7 separate regions of the Homo sapiens genome follow, and all the other regions are linked to region 1. The links are contacts of gene promoters, found by promoter capture Hi-C in blood cells and fetal thymus (Javierre and others, 2016). All regions are on one chromosome and are shown on one strand. Each heading gives the region's core, a stretch centred on a gene start or on the middle of the fragment in contact. The rest is flanking DNA. Distances are from core to core; before and after follow the strand shown.

The links. Contacts are between HindIII fragments. The CHiCAGO score rates a contact against its expected background, and 5 or more counts as called.
Region 2: a contact is called between a fragment that was not itself captured here and the fragment with the promoter of IFNGR1 in region 1, in 4 of 17 cell types (neutrophils, fetal thymus, monocytes and 1 more). The highest score is 7.2, in neutrophils.
Region 3: a fragment that was not itself captured here is called in contact with the fragment with the promoter of IFNGR1 in region 1 in 3 of 17 cell types (monocytes, total B cells and M2 macrophages); the score reaches 8.9 in monocytes.
Region 4: a contact is called between a fragment that was not itself captured here and the fragment with the promoter of IFNGR1 in region 1, in 1 of 17 cell types (monocytes). The highest score is 5.8, in monocytes.
Region 5: a fragment that was not itself captured here is called in contact with the fragment with the promoter of IFNGR1 in region 1 in 1 of 17 cell types (monocytes); the score reaches 6.9 in monocytes.
Region 6: a fragment that was not itself captured here is called in contact with the fragment with the promoter of IFNGR1 in region 1 in 2 of 17 cell types (monocytes and fetal thymus); the score reaches 5.5 in monocytes.
Region 7: a contact is called between a fragment that was not itself captured here and the fragment with the promoter of IFNGR1 in region 1, in 1 of 17 cell types (monocytes). The highest score is 8.4, in monocytes.

Annotation. Positions count from the first base shown.
Region 1 is chr6:137,217,813-137,220,758 of GRCh38, reverse strand. IFNGR1 (interferon gamma receptor 1) reads left to right here and starts at 1,374. Exons shown (of 7, transcript NM_000416.3): 1 at 1,374-1,516. The coding sequence starts at 1,432. RefSeq lists enhancers at 904-1,153, 1,004-1,734 and silencers at 1,194-1,423, 1,464-1,683, 2,144-2,193. The HindIII fragment of the contact is 10,215 bases long and covers 1-2,946 here.
Region 2 is chr6:137,949,133-137,952,078 of GRCh38, reverse strand. LINC02865 (long intergenic non-protein coding RNA 2865) reads right to left here. Exons shown (of 2, transcript NR_174953.1): 2 at 276-938. Among named protein-coding and RNA genes, the nearest start is that of SIMALR, 4.8 kb to the right of the region's middle. The HindIII fragment of the contact is 1,379 bases long and covers 864-2,242 here.
Region 3 is chr6:137,930,072-137,933,017 of GRCh38, reverse strand. No RefSeq gene overlaps it. Among named protein-coding and RNA genes, the nearest start is that of LINC02865, 14 kb to the left of the region's middle. The HindIII fragment of the contact is 3,982 bases long and covers 1-2,946 here.
Region 4 is chr6:137,905,572-137,908,517 of GRCh38, reverse strand. No RefSeq gene overlaps it. Among named protein-coding and RNA genes, the nearest start is that of LINC02865, 38 kb to the left of the region's middle. The HindIII fragment of the contact is 10,000 bases long and covers 1-2,946 here.
Region 5 is chr6:137,881,136-137,884,081 of GRCh38, reverse strand. TNFAIP3 (TNF alpha induced protein 3) reads right to left here. Exons shown (of 9, transcript NM_001270508.2): 9 at 770-2,946. The coding sequence ends at 2,763. Among named protein-coding and RNA genes, the nearest start is that of WAKMAR2, 14 kb to the right of the region's middle. The HindIII fragment of the contact is 2,051 bases long and covers 508-2,558 here.
Region 6 is chr6:137,858,844-137,861,789 of GRCh38, reverse strand. The region is part of intron 3 of WAKMAR2 (wound and keratinocyte migration associated lncRNA 2); the gene reads left to right. Among named protein-coding and RNA genes, the nearest start is that of TNFAIP3, 6.9 kb to the left of the region's middle. The HindIII fragment of the contact is 2,381 bases long and covers 354-2,734 here.
Region 7 is chr6:137,829,296-137,832,241 of GRCh38, reverse strand. All of the region lies in intron 3 of WAKMAR2 (wound and keratinocyte migration associated lncRNA 2), which reads left to right. Among named protein-coding and RNA genes, the nearest start is that of TNFAIP3, 36 kb to the left of the region's middle. The HindIII fragment of the contact is 4,045 bases long and covers 1-2,946 here.

The sequences.
Region 1 (2,946 bases), core at 125-2,624:
ACTGGATATCATATTTTGTCCTACTCCATAGACGCCTAAACGGTAAAGATCAGTTATTTATCCTTGCATCCTTACAACGACTAGAAGGTGTCTTTCATATAGTGGACATCAGAAACACATCAAAGGAAATATTCTCCCTAAACTTAGTCTAGATTGAGCTAAATTCTTCTGATTCAAAGTGTGGTCCTGTTGAAAGGGGCACCAGCATCCCCTGTGCATTTTGTCCGAAATACAAAATCTCAAGACCCAACCTGAATTAGAACTACTGAATCCAAATCTGCATTTTATCAAGATCCCCAGATGGTTCACATGTATGTTGAAGTTTGAGAAGTACTGAGCTAAGAGATTTATTAATACAAGTAAAATGATCTGGCTGATAATACCTCTAGTTTATATAGTGTCTTTATAAGGATTTTCCCTCTTTAAAAATTTTCCTTAACACTAGTAATCATGCAGTCTTTCACTCAACAAATACTAATTGAGTGCCAAGTAAAGATGTCAGCTCTACGGAGCTTACATTTTAGAAGGAGAAGAAAACAAATATCAAGGTGTATATTATAGTGTACAGCAAGGTGAAAAGTGCCATGAAAAAACAGTAGGGCGGGGTAAGGAGGAGGAGAAGGTGTGTTGCAATTTAAAATTTTTAACAAAAGTTCATGATACTCAGAGAATTGAAACAGGTGAGATCATTAGACATTCGCATGTTTGAGCACAAGCGCTGAAGGACTTAGCAATGTGGCTGCAGTGGAATAGGAGAGATGCAAAATAACAGACAAACCCAGAGAGGTAAGAGAGCAGACCTCTTCATGAGAGGCTGCCTGATAAACTGATTTGACACTGAATTGCTGAGAAGGTAATGCAAATAGTTTTTTTCTCCAAGAACAAAGTAGTTCTTGGTCAAGCCGATTTGATTTGGGCTGTGGGAATCTGCACAAACCATTTCACTAGCTAAGTCTCAGGTTCCTCAAATGAAAAAGCAGGGACTGGAAATGGCTTTTGAAGTCTCATTCTCTTCTAAAAATGTCAGGCTCCAAGACAACCAGGTGAAGTCCAAGAGTTAGTAAAATAAGGATTGTGGCTCGGCTGTGGCCTAATGCAAACTTGCACAACCCCAGGAAACCGAAAAAAACTGGAAGAAGAATTGCAGAATGGGGTGCCAGGTTGAAAGACCTTAACCTTTGCACTCAAATTCCTCCCACACCCAGAAGTCCAGGTCCCGACCGCACGACGCCGTGCTCACTGCTGGGTGCTGCGCCTGAGTCCGCCTCCTGCGGCTTCCCGGACTTGACCCCGCCCACGCCCTGGTCCCGCCTCCTGCCGACGCCGGCACAGACCCCGGTGACGGAAGTGACGTAAGGCCGGGGCTGGAGGGCAGTGCTGGGCTGGTCCCGCAGGCGCTCGGGGTTGGAGCCAGCGACCGTCGGTAGCAGCATGGCTCTCCTCTTTCTCCTACCCCTTGTCATGCAGGGTGTGAGCAGGGCTGAGATGGGCACCGCGGATCTGGGGCCGTCCTCAGGTACCGTCGTTCGCGGCAGGGCTGCGGCCGGGTCGGGACGAGAGGGAGGGAGGGATCCGCCCCAGCCGGGAAGCCCCGCCCCGCTTCTCCGAGGTCGCCCTAGCCCGGGACCCCTGCGTCGGGCCCTGAGCGGGCGACGGGGACGCGAGGTGGGGTCGCGAGACTGGGGCTCCGTGGTTTGAACTCGTCGGTTGCCTTTCTCCTGCCTCTTCCCTGGTTGCCGCCACAACAAATCACGCCGCTTGTTTTTCCGACTCTTGTAATCCACTTTTAAATACGATTATGCGCTGCAGAAGGACGTTGCTGGTCAATGTGGGACAGCGTGGTCTCAAAGATTATAATATCGTCTTCTTACTGTACCTTTTTTTATGGTTAGATACGCAGATACTCACTAGTATGCTACGGTTGCCTGCAGTGTTCAGTGCAGTGACAGGCTGTACAGGTTCATGACCTAAGAGCAGTAGGCTGTGTCATCTGGGTTTGTCTGGGTTTCTACTGCCCGAAGAAATTGCCTAAGGGGACATTTCTCCATTTCTCAGAACGGATCTCCATCGTTAAGTGACGCATGACTGTGAGTGTCCTGATCAGCATGTGGCATCGTGGTCTCAGTTCGTGGCTTAAATACTTCTTTCTTAGCGGGGGTGGGGGGGGGGACTCAAAGTGCTTAGGGTAGGAAAGTATGCATTATGTCGCCAGCTGAGAAGTAAGTGGCAGCTGAGAAGTAAGTGGCAGTCCGTCTTAGGTCTCAGTCTGGAAGTGGTGGATTGCCGGCACTCACTAGCAGATTTGGCAGTAGGTCTCTTCGTACGGGTTTGTTCTTCGGAGCATTTTATTTCCACCTGCTTATTGACATTTCCTAGAAAACAAATGTTGAGGGTGGCTTTTCTGAAGTGCAGAGTAATTGTGATTACGAGCTCCAGAGAAAACAGTAAACCTTTTCAATTCAGTTTTCTTTTTTTTATTATGATTTATGATTCATAGGGACTTTGAAAGGTCCACGTTTTGGTTCTGTGTTCACAACAATCTTCTGGAGTAGGCGTTATTTGTCTCTCTCTTTATGGACGAGAAATTGAGTTACGGAGAGGCCTGCCCAACTGGCAGAGAGGTCATAGCCACTCAGTGGGGAGCTGCTCAATTTGGCTCCAGAGTCCAAGTTCTTAACTGCTCTTCTAGGCTCTAGTCAGTCATCCACATGGGCAGTTGCAGTACTTTGCGGTAAGAGCTTGCACTTAGGCACAGACTAGTGGAAAGCAAGGCGGGGTGCTTGTCTCTTTTAGGGAAGTCAGTGAAGACTTCACAAAGGTGACCCCAGTGTTGGAACCAGAGGTGCAGAGACTGAGGTGCAGAGGTGTGATAGCATGTTGAATTCGTGGAATATTAAGCGTTCTATTGTAAAGTGTGTGTGAGAGCTTACAAGGGGAGGAGATAGG
Region 2 (2,946 bases), core at 304-2,803, 730 kb before region 1:
TGCATCCTACACTGTTCACCTTATCCCCCAAATAGCTTCATTTTCATGTCAAGGATTCTTTCTTCCTGCCAATCTGTCCATTTTTAGTCCAGGGTTTCCTGACTTGGTGACTATGGACACTAGAAGGTTGCAGGTATCAGTAGCAAGGGATTTGAGAATGCTTTCTTATACCAAATGTTATCTGTAGATTGAATATCTCGTACACATAAGTGTTGCTGTTTTTCCAAATGAACTTCTATCAGTCTGAGTTCAAGCAAGAGACAGAAACCACATAGTAATGTAAAGCAAGAGAAGTTTAATATAAAAAATTATTCGACAGTGATAGAAGAATAACTATAACAATGTAAAGAGAACTTTCAAGGGTATCCGAGGATTGAGGGAGAGTACCCAAGGAAAGACAACTCGGAAAGACGGTTCTCTCCTTAAGGCTGGGGTCAGGCCTTGTTGGAGAAGGTGTGTTTGCAGTCCACTAGATGTCAGAGAAGCCTGCTGTTTTCCAGGACCAGGAGCTGGTCCATAGCTGCTGGGCAAATAGGATGCAATTTCTTGGAGCACAGGCAAACTGAGGCTGTGGCTAAGTGCACAGTCAGGCCACTGCTGGGGACGTGAGGCCTGGAGCACACAGTGCCTGTGTTGCAGGGCTGTGAGAAGGTGGCCACAGGCTCAGAATCAGGCCAAATAGTCAGTGAGGGATGTGCCTCTGGGCAGGTGGTAGGGCAGGGCACAGCGGGATGGTCTTATACATAGTACCACTGATGGATAATGCAGCTGGAGCAAGAAGAAGAAAAGTAGCACACCAAAATCAGGAAGAGAAACTCGCTTTCTTCTGCAATGCTGCTCCAGTGGCATCTGCTGACAAAGCTTAGCATTGTGCTCACTGTAAAGGAGAAATGCTTAAAGGGTCCATTGCATATTTGTAGAGCAGCTGCTGAAGAAATCTGGAACAAAGAGGTAATAAATTGAAAACTGGCATAGCACTGGTAGAATTAGTGAAATATAAATTCATGTTAAATCTCTGCTGATTCCTAGTTGATTTTTATCGTTATATATTTTTAATGAACAGATTTTTATTGTTATATATTTCTCAATTAACAGATATAAAGAAGATGACAATTAGCGTGTGGGGAGTCCCCAAGACATTTTGATGTTAAACGTGGGTCCTTCTTCTTGACAAGGTGGGAATATGCTGCTCTAGCAAGATTGCAATGATGAATCCCAGGTGATGCCCACCTGTTGGCTTGAATCTAAAATAGCCTCTTCCTGTCCAGCTGTCGGGTTTCTGTAACTTGTACTATTAACTCTAGTGTGAATCATTTGCATAAATTATGGTTGCAATTCTTGAGCTCCTGGTGTATCACTTCTGGACCTTCTGAGTCCCAGGATGCAATCAGCCCTGCAAATACCCGACCTTTTCTCTAACTACCTGTTCATTGTCTCAAAAAGCGGTCTGGCCGTTTGTCCTTCTCACAAGCTAGGACAGTTGATTGAATGAACGAGTGAATGAATGAATGCCTGTCCCCCTCCTCCATGGTTTTGAGAATTATTATTAAAAATGCATATAAAGCCTATGTGGAAATGTACCAAGCAGCATAAATCATCATAATTGCTATTACTGATAATAGCCACACTTTTAAACAAGGCTTTATTTGCCTTTCAGTAGATCTCATTTGCAAATGGTGGTTTTTTTTTTTCTTTTTTAAATAAGTGGTTTCTACTTATAACCAAGCTCAATGGTAACTAAGCAATTCAAGAATTCTGTGGCATATGCATTATCAACAAAACTCTGTTTTTAGACTCTACTCACTTGCAAACCCATGTCTAAACATTGCAGCTATAGCAACATGCAGGCCCAGGTGCTAAATCACCTGGTTGGGAAGACAGAAACCATCTCACATTGCATCTAAGAACTCTGACCTGAATGACATTTTCCAGGAAGTAGGTGAGAGTAGGGGAGAGGAAAGAAGAAGGGAGAATTAAGAGCAAAAGTTAGTTTCATTTAAACTGAAACAAGTAGGTCAGCTGACATTGTGCTAAGTGAGTCCGCTCACTTTTCAGGTTAAAGTTTTTCCTTAAACTCAGATTTTTTGGTAAAAGAAAAAAGAACAAGACAACTCCAGGATACAAATTGTGAAACTTGTAATGATGATGTGATACCTTAATTTGGTTAAAATGCATGACAATATAAGTCAGGACAACCTTTGGCTGACACAAATGAGGAGTTATGCTCAAGTGCACAAAAGCTTTCCCATGAGCCACTTGTTTTTGGTTTTAATAAGGCTTCATCTCTTTAAGTGGATTACCAGTAAATTCTTCTGATAGTTAATACTAGAAAACAAATGGGAAGCTTGAGGTTTTTCCCCACAAGATGGCTATTTCTAATATCAAGATTGTCACAGCTATTTGGGGGATGGCAGCACAAAGGCAAGAGAAAGCGTCAAAAAGTGTTTTGGGGTCGGGAAGTAACATGAAGAAACTCGTGCTTAAAGAAGAATATGTTTGCAGACTGGTGATGTACACAGCTAGGCAGCCTAATAAACCGATGTAGTAATTCAAGTATAAAAGCCCTCAGAAGTTAACTAGTCAAGCCCCTTTCTAGTACAAAGGAGGAAACTGAGCCCCAGAGATTAGAGAGGAACTTGCCTAAAATCTCTTACCTGGTTGTTGGCAGAGCTATGTCTAGTGACCAGACTAAAAAGTTTTGGCTGCTATTCTTTTCACCAAATGTCACTGAACTTTAGAGGTGACATGACATTCTCATTTTTAATATTTTATATTTTGAGGTGATCTAAGAGTTGCAGATCCCAGGGGATTATTTTTCCTTTAGGATCTTAGTTATAAATGTTCTTTTCTCTAACTGCAACCTCCTTATAGGTTTCCTCTCTCTTCCCTCCAAATCTACTCCAGTTTCTTTTCTTTTTCTTTCCTTTTTTTTTTTTTTTTGTTTGA
Region 3 (2,946 bases), core at 136-2,635, 710 kb before region 1:
TGGCTTGATTACCCTGGGGACCAATTGGGTTTTTTGTTTTACTAAAACCAAAGAAAAAGAAAAATAAACTTTGTTACTTATCACTGACTTATAAAGAATTCTGCTATAAGTCAAATTATTTAAACCTAGCCTAGCAATTATCTTTCTTTTTCCTTGTTCCTGAAAGGTAGGATTTTGTACACAACTTGCTACTAAGTACAGCTGCAATTTGATTAGGAGCCTTAACCCTTGAAAATAGTCCTTTACTGCAAAAAAGCATCATAAAGAAACACCTTTTATGTCTTCTGAATAATAAAAGGGAAAATTCATATTCTTACATTTCTTTGAACAGAAACATGTCTAAATGCTTCAAGTCACATGTTTAAAAGACAGTGGAACAAAGTATTTAGACTACATCTGATAGACAAAGTATTGGCAATTTATAAAACAGCCCCTCAAGATAAACAAAAGACAATCCAAAATAAAAGTGGCCAAATGACATAAACAGGCAATTCCTAGAAGTGAACATGCAAATGATTAATAAACATATGAAATTTAAAAAACAATGAGGTACATTTGCACCCAACAAATAGTGCACAATGAAAAAGACTGATAATATGTAATACTAATAAGAATATGGGAAAATAAGCAGGCTCATATATTGGTAGTTGGGAGTACAAATTATTGCAATCTTTTTGGAAAGACTCTGTGGGCCACAGTAATTCTAAATATTAGTGCCAGAAAGGATGGTGACTACCATCTTCATTCACTTATTCATGAAACAAATATTTACTGCACGCCTACTTTGTGCCAGGGATACAGACTTACATCTGTAAAATAAATCTCTGCTCCTGTGGAGTTCACATTTATTGCGGGACAGACAGACAATAGCCATAATAAATAAGTACAGTGCATAGAGTATAAGGAAGTGATACGTACGATGGAAAAAACACAGCAGGCCAGGGAAAACCTGTAATATTGATATGAGTGTGTGGGCAGCAACTTCAGATAGGGAGTCTGTATAGGTCTGGACTGAGAAAGTGAAATCTGAGCTAAGACTTGAAGGAAATAGGGAGTAGCTATGAGGATGCACAGGCGAATAAGGTTCCAGGCAGAGGAAACAGCCGGTATAAACATAAATAAGTAAAAATAACAAAGTGATTGAATACAAATATAAAGATGTAAGTGAAAGAAGAGTGGATGGAGACTGCTCCTTTCCCTTCCAAGGTTAACAGTTTCCTTTCTGCATATTTTCTTCATTTATTTATTCAGTTAATGGGATCTGTGTCTGTAACATCTAGGAGGGTGTGTTGATCTGTCAATTATCAAAAAGATAGTCTTACTTTTGGTCAATCAGGCACGGTCACAGAGTCCAGAGACTTTTGGCAAGCTACTTCCTTTTTTTTCCCATGAAATCGGTCATCAATCCATACAGAGTCCACCTGCAATAAGAGTAGCTTGAGTGGAATCACTGAATCTCCTCCTTATCTGGTCCCCTCTCTTGTCTCCTTGGAGCTTTTTTCTACTCATCTGCCTACCCTCAGAATCTTCTGGCAGCTTCAGAGCCTAAAGATTTTGCCAACTCCTTTAAGTCCTTCATATTGTTCAGTGAAGAACCCTTATGAGGGCAACAGACTTATCTCTTGTTAGTGTGAACTTCTGTTATAGCATTCAATTGTGGCATTAATTTTGCTAACAAAAATGCTATTACATTATTCTGTCCAATCAGAGACGTCTATAATCATATAGTGGTAATAATTACATCTGACAACATTACGATAGATTTTTCTGTATTCCTTTACCATCTCTTCTGACCATTTCTCATACTTCACAAGTTTTCTAAATTTCTTTTGAGGTATAACGTACTTTTTAGTATAGAGTTTGTTGGATTTTAAAATAAACATGCCCTATTTACCTCCCAGATTAACACTGCCAGCACCCCAGAAGCCTCTCTCTCATGCCTCCTTTCAGTCAATAACCACCCTAAGGTAGCCAATATTCTAATTTGGATCACCATATGTTAATTTTTGACTGGTCTTTAGACTTTATATAAATGGAATCGTTTTGTAAGTACTCTTTGTATAACATTATGTTTGTGAAATATATCACTTTTGTAGATAGCCATAGTTTGGCCGGGCATGGTGGCTCATACCTGTAATCCCAGCACTTTCGGAGGCCGAGGAGGGCGAATCATGAGGTCAGGAGTTCAAGACCAGCCTGGCCAACATGGTGAAACCCAATCTCTACTAAAAATGCAAAAAATTAGATGGGTGTAGTGGCGGGTGCCTGTAATCCCAGCTACTCAGGAGGCTGAGGCAGGAGAATCACTTGAACCCAGGAGGTGGAGGTGGCAGTGAGCCAAGATTGTGCCACTGCACTCCAGCCCGGGCGACAGAGTGAGACTCCATCTCAAAAAAAAAAAAAAAAAAATGCTGGGCATGGTGGCTCACGCCTATAATCACAGCACTTTGGGATCGCTTGAACTGAGGAGATGGAGGTTGCAGTGAGCTGAGATTGCGCCACTGCACTCCAGCCTGGGCAACAAGAGCGAAACTCCATCTCAAAAAAAAAAAAAAAGCAATAGTTTGTTCTTTGTCATCATTGTATAGTATTCCATTGTATAACTATACCAAGATTTATTTGTTCTACTGTTGACAGACATTTGGGTGGGTTTCAGTTTTTGGCAATTGTGTGTAAAACTGTTATAAACATTCTTTAACATACTGCTTTGTGAATATATGCATTTATCCTCCCAGGCAGAGAGAGTGGCACATTTCTACTGTAAAAGGTCAAAGAGTAAATCCTTTAGGATCTACGGGTCATATGGTTTCTGTCTGTCGCAATTATGCCATTGCAGTGCCAAAGTAGCTCTAGAGAAGACATAAACAAATGGATGTAGCTGTGTTTCAATAAAGTGCTATTTACAAAGACCAGATTTGACCTGTACACCATAGTTTGTTGAACCTT
Region 4 (2,946 bases), core at 244-2,743, 690 kb before region 1:
GAGAGACAGAGAGAAAGAGAGAAAATGATTACAGAATGGATCAGATACACACTTGGTGGGAGTATATATTGGAACAAAATCTCTGGAAGATAATTTGGCAATGCTATTTAAAAAATGTAAAATTTTGCATTCTAATTCCAGAAACTTATTCTGAGGGAATCATCATAGGATGATAGAAAGTCATAACTATTTATAATAGCAAAATATTGAATGCAGCACATATGCAATAAAACTAATTAATTATAATACATACAATGAAATATACAATGCATTCATCAAAAATAATGTGGCAGAAGAATTTTCAGTAATGTCAAAGAAATGGTTACATATATCGTTTGTGAAAAATATTAGGTTGCATAACTGCATGTACAATATGACCTGTTTGTGTTAAAAATATGTATTTATTATTTTAAAAAGCCTAAATGAGTATAATATCAAAACATTTACAGTAGTTATTCACCAGAAAGCAAAATCTTTGAAAATAGGAAATAAGTAGTGCATTTAGATCACATGGTAAGTAATTTAAAACTATGTTATTGAATTCTAATTAATTGTGTGATGGGATTATGGGCATTTTGATTTTCTTATGTCTATTCTCTAAGTTTTCTGAACAAATAAATATTACTTAAATGAGAAAACAGATCAAAATTTATATATATTGACAGAGAAATGAAATAAATATATAAAATAAAATTGATTTTTAAGTGGTAAAATAACAATAATGAACACTGTTTGGGTCTTTAATGTATCTTTCAACACACACACACACACACACACACACATCTTGACAGTCACCCATCAGATGATATAATTGTGTTTATGAAGAACCCAAAAGAATCCATAGATATTAAAACACAAATATTTATATAAAAGTCAATTGCATTTTTATATAACAGCAAACAAGTTAAAAAAAGAAACCAGCCTATAATCTCAGCTACTTGGGAGGCTGAGGCAGAAGGATGGCTTGAGTTCAGAGGTTTGACCTGATCAATATGGCGAGACCCTATCTCTTTAAAAAAAAAAAGGAAAGAAAAAGAAACCAAAAAATATATTTTTTAAAGGCAGCAGTCACAAAAGCAAACAAGTTAGAAAAGGAAACCAAATTGAAAAAAAAAAGACAATAGTCACAAAAGCAGTTAAAAACATAAGATACATAGAAAAACCTTTTTCAAGAGAGGAGCAAGAATGTTATGGAGAAGATTGTAATATTTTAACTATAGAGCCCACGTGGTCTGGTTTCAGACTGTGGCTCCCCTGAATTCATGGAAAAAATAAAATCAGATTCCTGCCTATTCTTACCATATCCCTAAATCAATTTCAGAGACATTAAACATTTAAATATGTAAACCAAAACAAAACATTTCAGATGAATAACACCTCTGGAAATAAAAAGATTTCTTAAATAAGGTTTTTACTCATAAAGGAAAAAAATTAAAATTTGACAATGTTTAAACTTAAGACTTTCTCTGAGAAGTCAGCTGAAAATTTGGAGAAGATATTTGCAACATGTATGCCAACAAAAAGAGTAATAAAAATATATAAAGGCAGCCCACAAATTAGTAAGAAAATGAGCAGCAAACAGAACAGTAGAAAAACGATGGGAAAATTTTTTTTCAAAATATAAAAAAAGTAATTGACACGGTTATGTAAGACTGAACTTCACACACCCTTCAATCTGCATTTTATTCCTGGATATATACCCAAAAGAAATTTTAGCATGTGTGTACCAGGAGACTTGGACAAGAATATCTATTTGATTTGTAACAGCAAAAACCTGAAGCGACACAGATCCAGGCAAATGAGATAATAGGTAAATAAGTGTGGTATAGTCATACAGTTGACTACTGTATAGCAGTGAAGATTAAGAACTATACACTATAGTCATCAACGTAGGTGGTACTGAATTAAAAGAGCAAGTTACAAAAGAATAATTATATAAAGTTCAAAGCCAAGCAAAATCAAATAGTACAGTGTTTAGGGATAAATGCCTATGTGGTAAAACTAAAAAGAAAAATGAAGAAATAATAAACCCAGTTTTTTTCTCAAGAAGCCTACTTTCTAACTGGGGAGGTGGCTCACTCACATGCACTAAACCATGTCTCTGGATTGGGGAAGATGAATAGATTGGGAGAAAGGTACACAAGGCTTCAAAGGTGTTGCTAATGTCTGATTTCTTAAGCTCAGTGGTGGGTATGCAAGTATCCATTTTATTATTATTCTTAGGCCTTATACTTAGGTTATAAATATGCTTTTTGTATTATTTATTTACAGTTTTTCGTTACTGAACAGAAACATTCAAAATGAGGGAAAACTTTATTAGAACCAGTTTGAGCAGTCTACACATTTCTCTTAGAGACACCATAGGATGGGTTTTTGAGATAGAGAGTTAGGATTTTTAAACATGACTGTGCACATTTCTGAGACCCAGTTTTCTTGTTTGTCAAATGGGGATAATACTTAACACATAATGTATTGTTAGGATGAAATTTGATCATATATATTTTTATAAACCCTAGCTTATGGACTGTCATATATTAAGTATGTAATATATACAGGTCATTGTTATTATTATTAAAATATAATATTACAGTAGTGAAGAGTTCTTTAAAAATAAACAGAAATAGAAATTACAGTTGGTCTTTTGAAATGAAACATACTGAGGTTATATTAAATGAATGCTGCATTATTTATAATATTGCTCTCGAATGTGAGGAGTATGTATGTGAGGAGTATGTTTTATTCGAAGGACTAAAAATAACTGCTGTACATCATCTAAACTTTCTCACATTTTGCATGGGACATTTACACATAATGTGTATTTTGTCCATCACATCAGGCTTGATTACTAACAATTACTACGGGTCTTCAGAGAACCGGCATTGAAGATCATTCCTATTAATGTTCACCTCCCATCAAAAGAAGATTAAGGAGAAAAGTAAGATAAAG
Region 5 (2,946 bases), core at 284-2,783, 660 kb before region 1:
GGAAAAACAAAAAAGAGGATGTGATAGATGAAACAAATTGGGCAGAACGTTGGTAATTATTGAAACTGGAGGATGGCTATAGAGTGGCTCTTTATAGTACTTGTCACTTTCTTATTAAAGTTTTCTACTTTTAAAAAGTTAAAAAAAAATTATAAATATATTTTTTAAAGTGTGATTCTAAAATCTGGCTGATCATCCAGATCACCCGAGGAGCTTAAAAAAGTAGATTCTGGGAGCTGCGCAGTCCTGCTGAATCAGTCGTCTGTGAGTCCATTTGTACTGGATGGGAGGTGGGGATGAAGGCTTGCGCATGGAGGAATGTGTTATTTTTTAATTTCCTGGTTCTGGCAGCCAGCACAGCCACGCTGCCTCCTCTGCTTTGTCTGACCCAGGAGATCTTACATCAGTCTTCCTTCCTGCCTGCCTACTTCTCTCTTTCCTGTCTTTCCCTCCTCCTCCCTCTTGTTTTCTCTTTCTTCACTTTATAAAAGTTTAGGGCAGGAAGCTTAAAAGGGCCACAGGGTCCTAGCATCCCTTTCCTCTTCCCATCAGAGGAAGAGTGTCTTCATTGTCAAGCGGGGGCTTGTGCTTGAGGACTGGGCCTGGACCTCATACAGTTATTATTTATGAAAAGCTGCCTTGCTACCATGGATGAGAGATGTGTGCATTGCTCAGGTGCACCTCAAAATAAAGCTGCTTAGGAAGCACAGTCTTAATATCCAAGCCTTTCTTTTTCTTTCAGCATTCATCAATTGAAAACATCACAATCTGTTCTTAAATAATTTATTTTTTAATGTTGACTCTTGTGAAAAGTTACATTTATTTAGAAAAACTTGAAGAAATCCAACAAAGAATAGGTGGCTTTCTATTAGGGACAATTAAATGTGCAAATTTCAAATACTTTTTATAATAAGTATAAATAATTACTTTTTTTCACATTAAGAATGGAAATAATGATCAACACAAAATATTAAGATATCAACTTTAAGAGAATTAGATGAAAACACTGAAGTTTATTTGGTATCTTTGGAAAGAAATTATAAAGATTCGTCTGGGAAAAACTTAGGGGGCTCTAAGGGGAAAGTGTGCCTAATAGTATGAGTAAAGGCTGTGTAGAGTTATGGATCACAAATATTTTCAGGCCATAAGTACAGACCCCCAAAATGGCAGCCTTTATCTCTGGGGAAAATGCATTTCCCCTCCTTTTTTTTTTTTCTTCTAGAGCAAATATGACAGCAACCACAAAGCACACAGAGAAACTGTAAGCCAGCAACAGAAAGAGATTTCCTCATACTCATGGTTACTGGCTTTTGCTGTCCCAATACCAGGGTACCATGGGATGCAGGGGACTTCCCAGCCCCCCCAGGACACAGTGTTAACAGAAAATAAAACCATCACAAAAGGCCACATCTTTCCCTGTGACCATTGCCAGTCTCATCCCTGCTCCTTCCCTATCTCATCTCCAAGGAGGTAGGACACTCAGAGGCATTAACAGAACACAGAGTATAGTTTTTTATTACATAGCTGGAGTTTCATAAGGAGAAGCACGAAACATCGATGAATATGTATGTATACCTTGGATGCAATTCCTTCTTTCCTGGGGAGGCAAGCAAAAGTGTATCAAAGAGGCCAATTTACTCCCTGTGGTCAGGAACTTGCCCACAGCCTGACTCAAAGCAAGGATGTTCTCTCAGGAGAACACTGTGGCATTTTCCCCAGAGCTGAAGAAATATCTTCACTTAAATAATCTTGAAGTTTGTAATAAAATAAATAAAGTGAATTACACAAAAAGGACTAGAGCTCCCTTTAAAAAGGCAGCTGGTTGAGTTTATGCAAGCAGTGTATACACAAGCTCATGCCCCAACAACAACCAGAAAACAGGTTATTATTATTTAGCCTTCCTATTGTACTTCTAGGGCAGCATTTCAATATAATTTAAAAAAATCCCTCATACATAATGTAAGGGTATATTATATATGTACACACTTTTACTCCTCAGTTCAAGCTAACTTCTTTAGAAGTAAAGACAGTAATAACCCAAAGAGTTACACGTCTTCCCAGTAAAATATTCTAATTTTTTAAAAGGTGCATATTATAAAGAGCAGCTTGTTTTTCTGTCAATGTGAACATGTTCAGTCTCAGCAGCCTCAGAATCACAGTCCATGGATGGTTCTGCATTTCTGCCGGGTCCTCAGGAAAGGAACCGGGCAGGTAGGGAAAAACCATGAACTACAAACACTCTCTGAATACGTCCATTTTCCCTGAGCTTCCTTGAGCTTCTTGCAGAGGGCCTCGCTGCCATGAGGATCTGGCTTCACATCTCTGAGAGATGCTGGGGGAGGGGAGGTGGAATGGCTCTGGCTTCTCCAACCCACGCGACTTGTGTGTCTTTTCCCTTTCTCAGCCAAGACGATGAAGCAGTCCTGATGCGCAGGGTGCAGGGGCCTCGGCCAGTCCCCGCACACCTTCCAAGTCCAAAGAAGTTCCTGGCCTCCTGCTTGGTAGGAGAGGAGGAACCTTGGGCTGAATCTGACATCATCCCTTGCCAGTTACAAGCTTTGCTTTCTAAGGCCACCTGGGAACACTCCCGGGTTACCAAACCTGAGCATCGTGGGCACCACGAAGAGCTTATCTTTCCTCTCCTGCTCAGACACCCTTAAGCCCACTGTTGCAGTGGCAGCTGAGGGGTTCAGAGGATAGCACCATGATGACTGACAGCTCGAGGCCCCACTTCTTGCAGGAGGTGACCCACCTGTTTCCGGTTAGCCATACATCTGCTTGAACTGAAAGCATTCGTTGCAGTAGCCGTTGCACTTGGCATTGCCAAAATGATCACAGGCGGGGGCCCGGCAACGCTGCTTGGGGGGGTCTTCGGGGGCAGGCTCACCCCGGTGGGCCCCAGGGCCCATCCTCTGGTTGGGATGCTGACACTCCATGCAGAGCTCC
Region 6 (2,946 bases), core at 295-2,794, 640 kb before region 1:
TGCCCTTGCAACTGCTCAGCACTCAGCTTTCTGCTTACATGTTATTTAATCAGAGAAACCTCCCTGACTTACCCCACTTCCTGATCTTTCTGTCTTGCTTTCTTTGTAACATTTATCACAATTGAAAATTCTTTATTTATCAGTTCAATTGTTTATCATCTACCTTTCCCTACTAGAATGAGACTCTTTGAGAGTCTATCATTGATGCTTGCCTATCATTGTACTCTGTACTCCCTGTGCCCAGAAATGTACGTGATACAAAACAGGCACTCAGTGAACAACAGTTTGTTAGATGAATGAAAGGATTGGGAGGAAGAATGAAAAGATACCTTTCCTTTAGACATTTCTAAGCTTGCAAATGCACAGGCAATGAGAACCACCTCTCTTCACTCCCTGGCATTTGAGGCTTTTTACGTAAAAATTTAAACTAATGATTATATTAGAAATTTTTAAATGTTTAAAAAAAGTATGTTGTAAAATTGAGGAAATATAGTATTTTGAGAGTCCAAACACGTTCATGCAGTTGATTGAGCCTAAGTGTTGGGTTAATCCTAGTAAGTGATTGATCTTTTTAGGTAGGTAAGGGAATAAACAGAAGATCAGAAAAGAAGAGGTACTACTATTACATTTTAAGTTTCCAAATATACTACTAAGTGTCTCTAGTAAAACTTAACTCATTGAAGAAGAAAATAGTCTGACTCTAAAAAAAGAGTGTGTGTTCCTGAGAAAGACTAAACCAGTTATTTTCTCCTTTCATGTTTGAATGAATAACCATCAGCAAGGGAGAGATGCACTGACCTTCTGCCAGGTATGTTTAGTATGGATGTTTCTATGCTGTTGACAAACAAAAAAAAAAAAAAAAAGAAAAAAGAAAAAAAAGCCAATCTCTGTAAAATATTTAAAGACATTTATTCTGAGCCAAATGTGAGGACCATGACCCATGACATAGCCTCAGGAGGTCCTGAGAACATGTATCCAAACACAGTGGTTGGGTTACAGCTTGATTTTACACAGTTTAGGGGGACAGAATTTATAGGCAGACATCAATCAGTGTATGTAACGTATATGTTCATTTGGTCCAGAAAGGTAGGACAACTTCAAGGAGGGTGTTGGGCTTACAGCTGATAGTTGAATTCAAAGGTGTTCTGATTGGCAGTTGGTTGAAACAGTTAAGTTTCTTTCTAAGGAGTTAAGACAGAAATGCTTAGGGTTAAGATAAGGAGGGTTGTGGAGGCCAAGGTTCTTGTTATGAAGATGAAGCCTTCTGGTAGCAGCCTTCAGAAAGAGTAATAGGTGGTAAATATCTCCTATCAGACCTTAAACGGTGCCAGACTCAGTTGAATATCTCCTGGATCAGGAAAAGACCTGGAAAGGAGAGAGAATTATCTACGGAATGGAGAGTTTCCTCACAACAGACAGCTTTGCCAGGTCATTTCAAAATGTATCAAATAAATATATTTTGAAGTAAAATACTTGGATTTCTTTCAGGGCCTCCTGTCACATTGCTATCTTATTGCTACAAAAAGTCTGTTTTGTCAGTCTTAAGATCTCTGTTTTAATGTTAATGCTGGTCAGTTGTGCCTGAATTCCAAAGAGAGGAGAGTATAATGAAGCATGTCCGACCCTCCCTTCCCATCATGGCCTGAACTAGTATTTTAGGTTTCTTTGAAATCCCCTCGGCTGAGAGTTGGGGGTCCATTCAGTGGTTCGGGGGCTTAGAATTTTATTTTTGTTTAGAATATTTATTATTCTTTTGTTTACAGCAAGTTGGCTGTTTTCCCATATTAATGTCTGGAAGTTTTAAAATGTTTTTTCATGCACTTTAATTTTTAAAAATTTATTTGTAAATGAACTTACATGCAAAAGTGTTCATCTTTTGTTTTATATTAATGGGAAAAATGTTTTAATTTTTCTTAACTGGTTCTGTTCTCATAAAATCCCTAGAATTTAGCCTTGTTGATTTCTAGTTTTTATTAGAGAGCATTTAGGCATTCAGGAGAAAAAGTTGGAATTGCCATATTTTTAGTATATGCTTTCCAGGGAGTAGGAGAGGGTTGGGGAGGGGTTCCTGAATTTTTCATATTTGAAATAAATCTACCAAATCTATCTTGAGACATGTTCAGCTCTCTGCAGAAAACAACTAGAGAAGCATTATACTTCATCTCTACAATGAAATGTAATTTTCTCTTGAAATAAGTTACTTTTATGATACCTTAAGAAGTACCTCTGGGAACACTCAACTTGTTACAATTCAGGTGTGAAATAAACCTGTAAGAAATGCCTTGATTCTTGAGGCTTTCATGGTTGGTTCTTAGGTTCTCTGGTTGAACCAAACAGTCATTGTTTGGTTGGTTCTCAATGGTGTCAAACATCCTAACTTGAGCAAGTATGGGATTTGAGATTTTTGCAAAAGATTTTTTATGTAAGAACTTAATTCATATATACATCTCTGGCTTTGAACTTCGAGAAAATTATTATACTTCTTGGGTGGCTGAAAAATTCTTGGCCTTAGGCATTTTAGCAATAATTGTTCAGAACTGCACAGCCTGCTATGTCTTATTCCCTTGCTACAGCTGTTTACTTTGTGATAACTGAACGAACAATGCGGAACTCTGGATGCTGCTATTTTCAAAGTGTCTTTCTAGTGCTAAATTGGATAATTTAAATAAAAAATTCACAACAGAACATTAATAACCTTCTAAACTAATGATCATTTACTCTAAGCCTTAAAGCTTCTGTTTGTCTGAGCTGATACCTGTTTTTTTTAATTTTCAAATTCTTAAAAGTTTTATTATTTTTTTAGAGACAAGGTCTCACTCTGTCACCCAGGCTGGAGTATGGTGGTGTGATCATGGCACACTGTGGCCTTCACCGACCCTTCTGCTTCAGCCTCCTGAGTAGCTGGGACTACAGGCTTGCGCCACCACACTCAGCTAATTTATAATT
Region 7 (2,946 bases), core at 172-2,671, 610 kb before region 1:
GGGGGAGAAAAGGAAGAAATCCTCCTAAAAGCACATTGTACCTGGTAAAAAATTATTGTCATGCTTTAGAATTTTGAGAATCAACCCACTGAAACATTTTATACTTAAAATTCCAAAGAGATTGCCATATCAAGTCCCTACCATAAACTTTCCTGCATTATATTAAGTATTTTTGGGTTTATTTATTTTGTTGAACACCTATTCTTTAAGTTGGTTTATAACTTCCTTGGTGGGTATTTTTTTTTCTGAAGAAATGTTTCTAACATCTCAAGATTCATATTACTTAAGGTACTTTTTATAGGTATCTACATTCTAATGAAATACAAAGAATAGAATTTATCTGAAAAAAACATAAGCCATCAAATCGTTTTGTCAGAGCTGATCTATATGGGTGATAGGTCTGAATATGCTTATAGATCACAGCTATGCACCTTAATCATTGAAGGGGTCCTGGAAGGGGAATTTATGTTATCACAGAGAGCAATAAAAGCCAGGGGACAATCAAATGAAAATCCTTTTCCTTTCATAAATAACTTAATAATTAGCATTTATGAGAATAACTGAGTAATTCTGGCTATTAACCAAACCTTTTTTTATCGTGTTTTATGGCCCAGGCTTGGCTGACAAGTTGCCTAACCATGAGTGTATATATATATTTTTTTTTTCTGCTGTCACTACCACCTGTTTTAGACTTTGCTTTCATTTTTTTTTTTTTTTGGTGTTATCTTTTGCTCTCACAGGCAAAAAAATGCTTAATTTGTAGGAAATACAATTTCTTGCAAATAAAAAATAAAATTCAGGTTCATGAGCCCTGAATTTATATGCCAACTTTAGAGCTTTTTAGCAGTGGGATTTGGGCTACTTACTTAACAGACTCCCTCCCTCTGCTCCCCCTCCTCACAAAGTCATCCTTACATCTAAAATGCAGGTAATTAGACTGACCACCTAGAGTTGTAATGGGCAGATGTGAAAACATAATGCTAAGTTTCCAGCATCATGGTAAATGAACAAATGGTAATGTCCTCCAGTAGAAAGTCAATATGGCCTACAAGAAAGGGCAGGGGGAAGGGGCTCCCAAGACCCACATTGAAGTCCTGGCTCTAGCACTTACTAGCTGCCCAGGTTGGGAATTCTCCTAAACCTTCTCTGCATCTCAGTTTCTTCATTTGTAAAATGGGCAGAATATTCCTTAATCTACCTCTCTAAGTGGCTTAAAGGAAATAACTTTGTGAAACTGCCTTATAAAAATGATGAGATATTAAAATATTAATAATATGATGACAAAGTTTTTGGAGTTAATTTTTTCCCTCTGGGGAACAGTATTTTTTCAATGATAGTTCAATGGTTCCCTTTTGCTGAAGGTAGTGGCATTTCTCTTTTTTTTTTTTTTTCTGAATGACTCAGTTGGCACTTGTTATGAGCTATCTTGTAGGTTTTCTTTTCTTTTTTTTTTTTTTGGCACCTCAACTCTGTTTTAATCTTTTCAAGAGTAAAGACTCAATTTTAAACCTTGTGGGCTGCATGCTGAGATCTCTTAGGTGGGGCTGAAGGGGAAATCCTCCCTGGGGCACCATACTTAGTGTGAGAAGGGCCAGGGTTGTGGAGTGGAGCAGAGATGGCCTTCAGAGAGAAGAGGAAAGAAAAACAGGAACTTTGATGACATGGAGAAATTCTGAGATGCAGGGGAATATTGAGGGGCTTCCATGGACTTGCCTTGATCTTAGTAAGAAAGAAGGCCAATAAGATGAGGGAAAGAGAGTGGAAGGGAGTTGGGATCTTAGGGGCTGTATATCAAAGTGTCATGTTAACAGGATAACTAGCATATAGCTGACACTAAAAAAGTTTCGTAACTTTGAGATGAGTAGAAAATATTATTTTGTTATTTCATTATTCATGTCATATAATATTAGCATAGATAATAACATATATAATAATAGTAACAGCATGTATTAGGTACTTATGTCATATGTTTTGAACTTTACGCCTATCCTTTGATTTAATACTGAGAACAGCCTTACTAAGTAGATGCTATGATTATCTTTATTTTAAAGATGTGAAAACTGAAACTTTGGAAGGAAGTTCTGAAACACTATTGTGGGGCATAGAGTATCAAGTTTAGTAAGGAAAAGAAAAATGATTATAAGAGAGAATCGAGGGTCCAACTGAAGATGGATGGCATGAGTTTAAGACAAAACTCTCAGCACAATTCCATGTTTACCTCAGCCATGTTCTGCAACTTGGAGCAGTTGGTTGAGCTGACTGAGACTTCGAATACAATGGTTAGGAAAACAGTAACCTCTTTGCGTTCCACGTTGGACTTAATGACTATGAGTCATGTCATATATAGGAGGCAAGTTTTTCAGTGGAGATAGGAACAACTGAAATATGTTCTTCAGCCTAGTGGAGACAAGTAATTGTCATTGGCTGGTGAGTGTTTCAGATACTTCAAAGCATGGGTTGTGCTTCACCCCACCCTCTCTAGCTAAACTCCTTGGCTAATGGCCTGCATGATCTTAACTTCATTCCGGAAATACTGGTTAAGAGGATTTGGGACAGGCCATTTGGAGGCTGGTGAACCTGACAACTTACACAACCTACATTTGCAAAGCCCAGTTATTTTCTGACTAATGGGTCAGAAAGAGGGGGCAGAAGAGGAGAGAGAAATCTTCACCAAACAAACAGCCAGGCCATCTGGGTGGAGTTGCTTAAGGCAGTCACAAAAAAATGATCACATCATTTACCTCTCATTTAACAAGGGCAGAGCAGGGATACTAGCTGTGAGACACTTCTGCTCCGGGAAAGGTAGGAGCATTTGTACAATCTTTCCAGTATAGGGGAAGGGGGACATGGGAGTAGAAGTTGGATTGTTGAGTCACGAAGCAAATAGGTGTCTTTTTATTCTAATTAACTTGAGAAAGAAAGAATTTGGTATTATATCAACCCAGC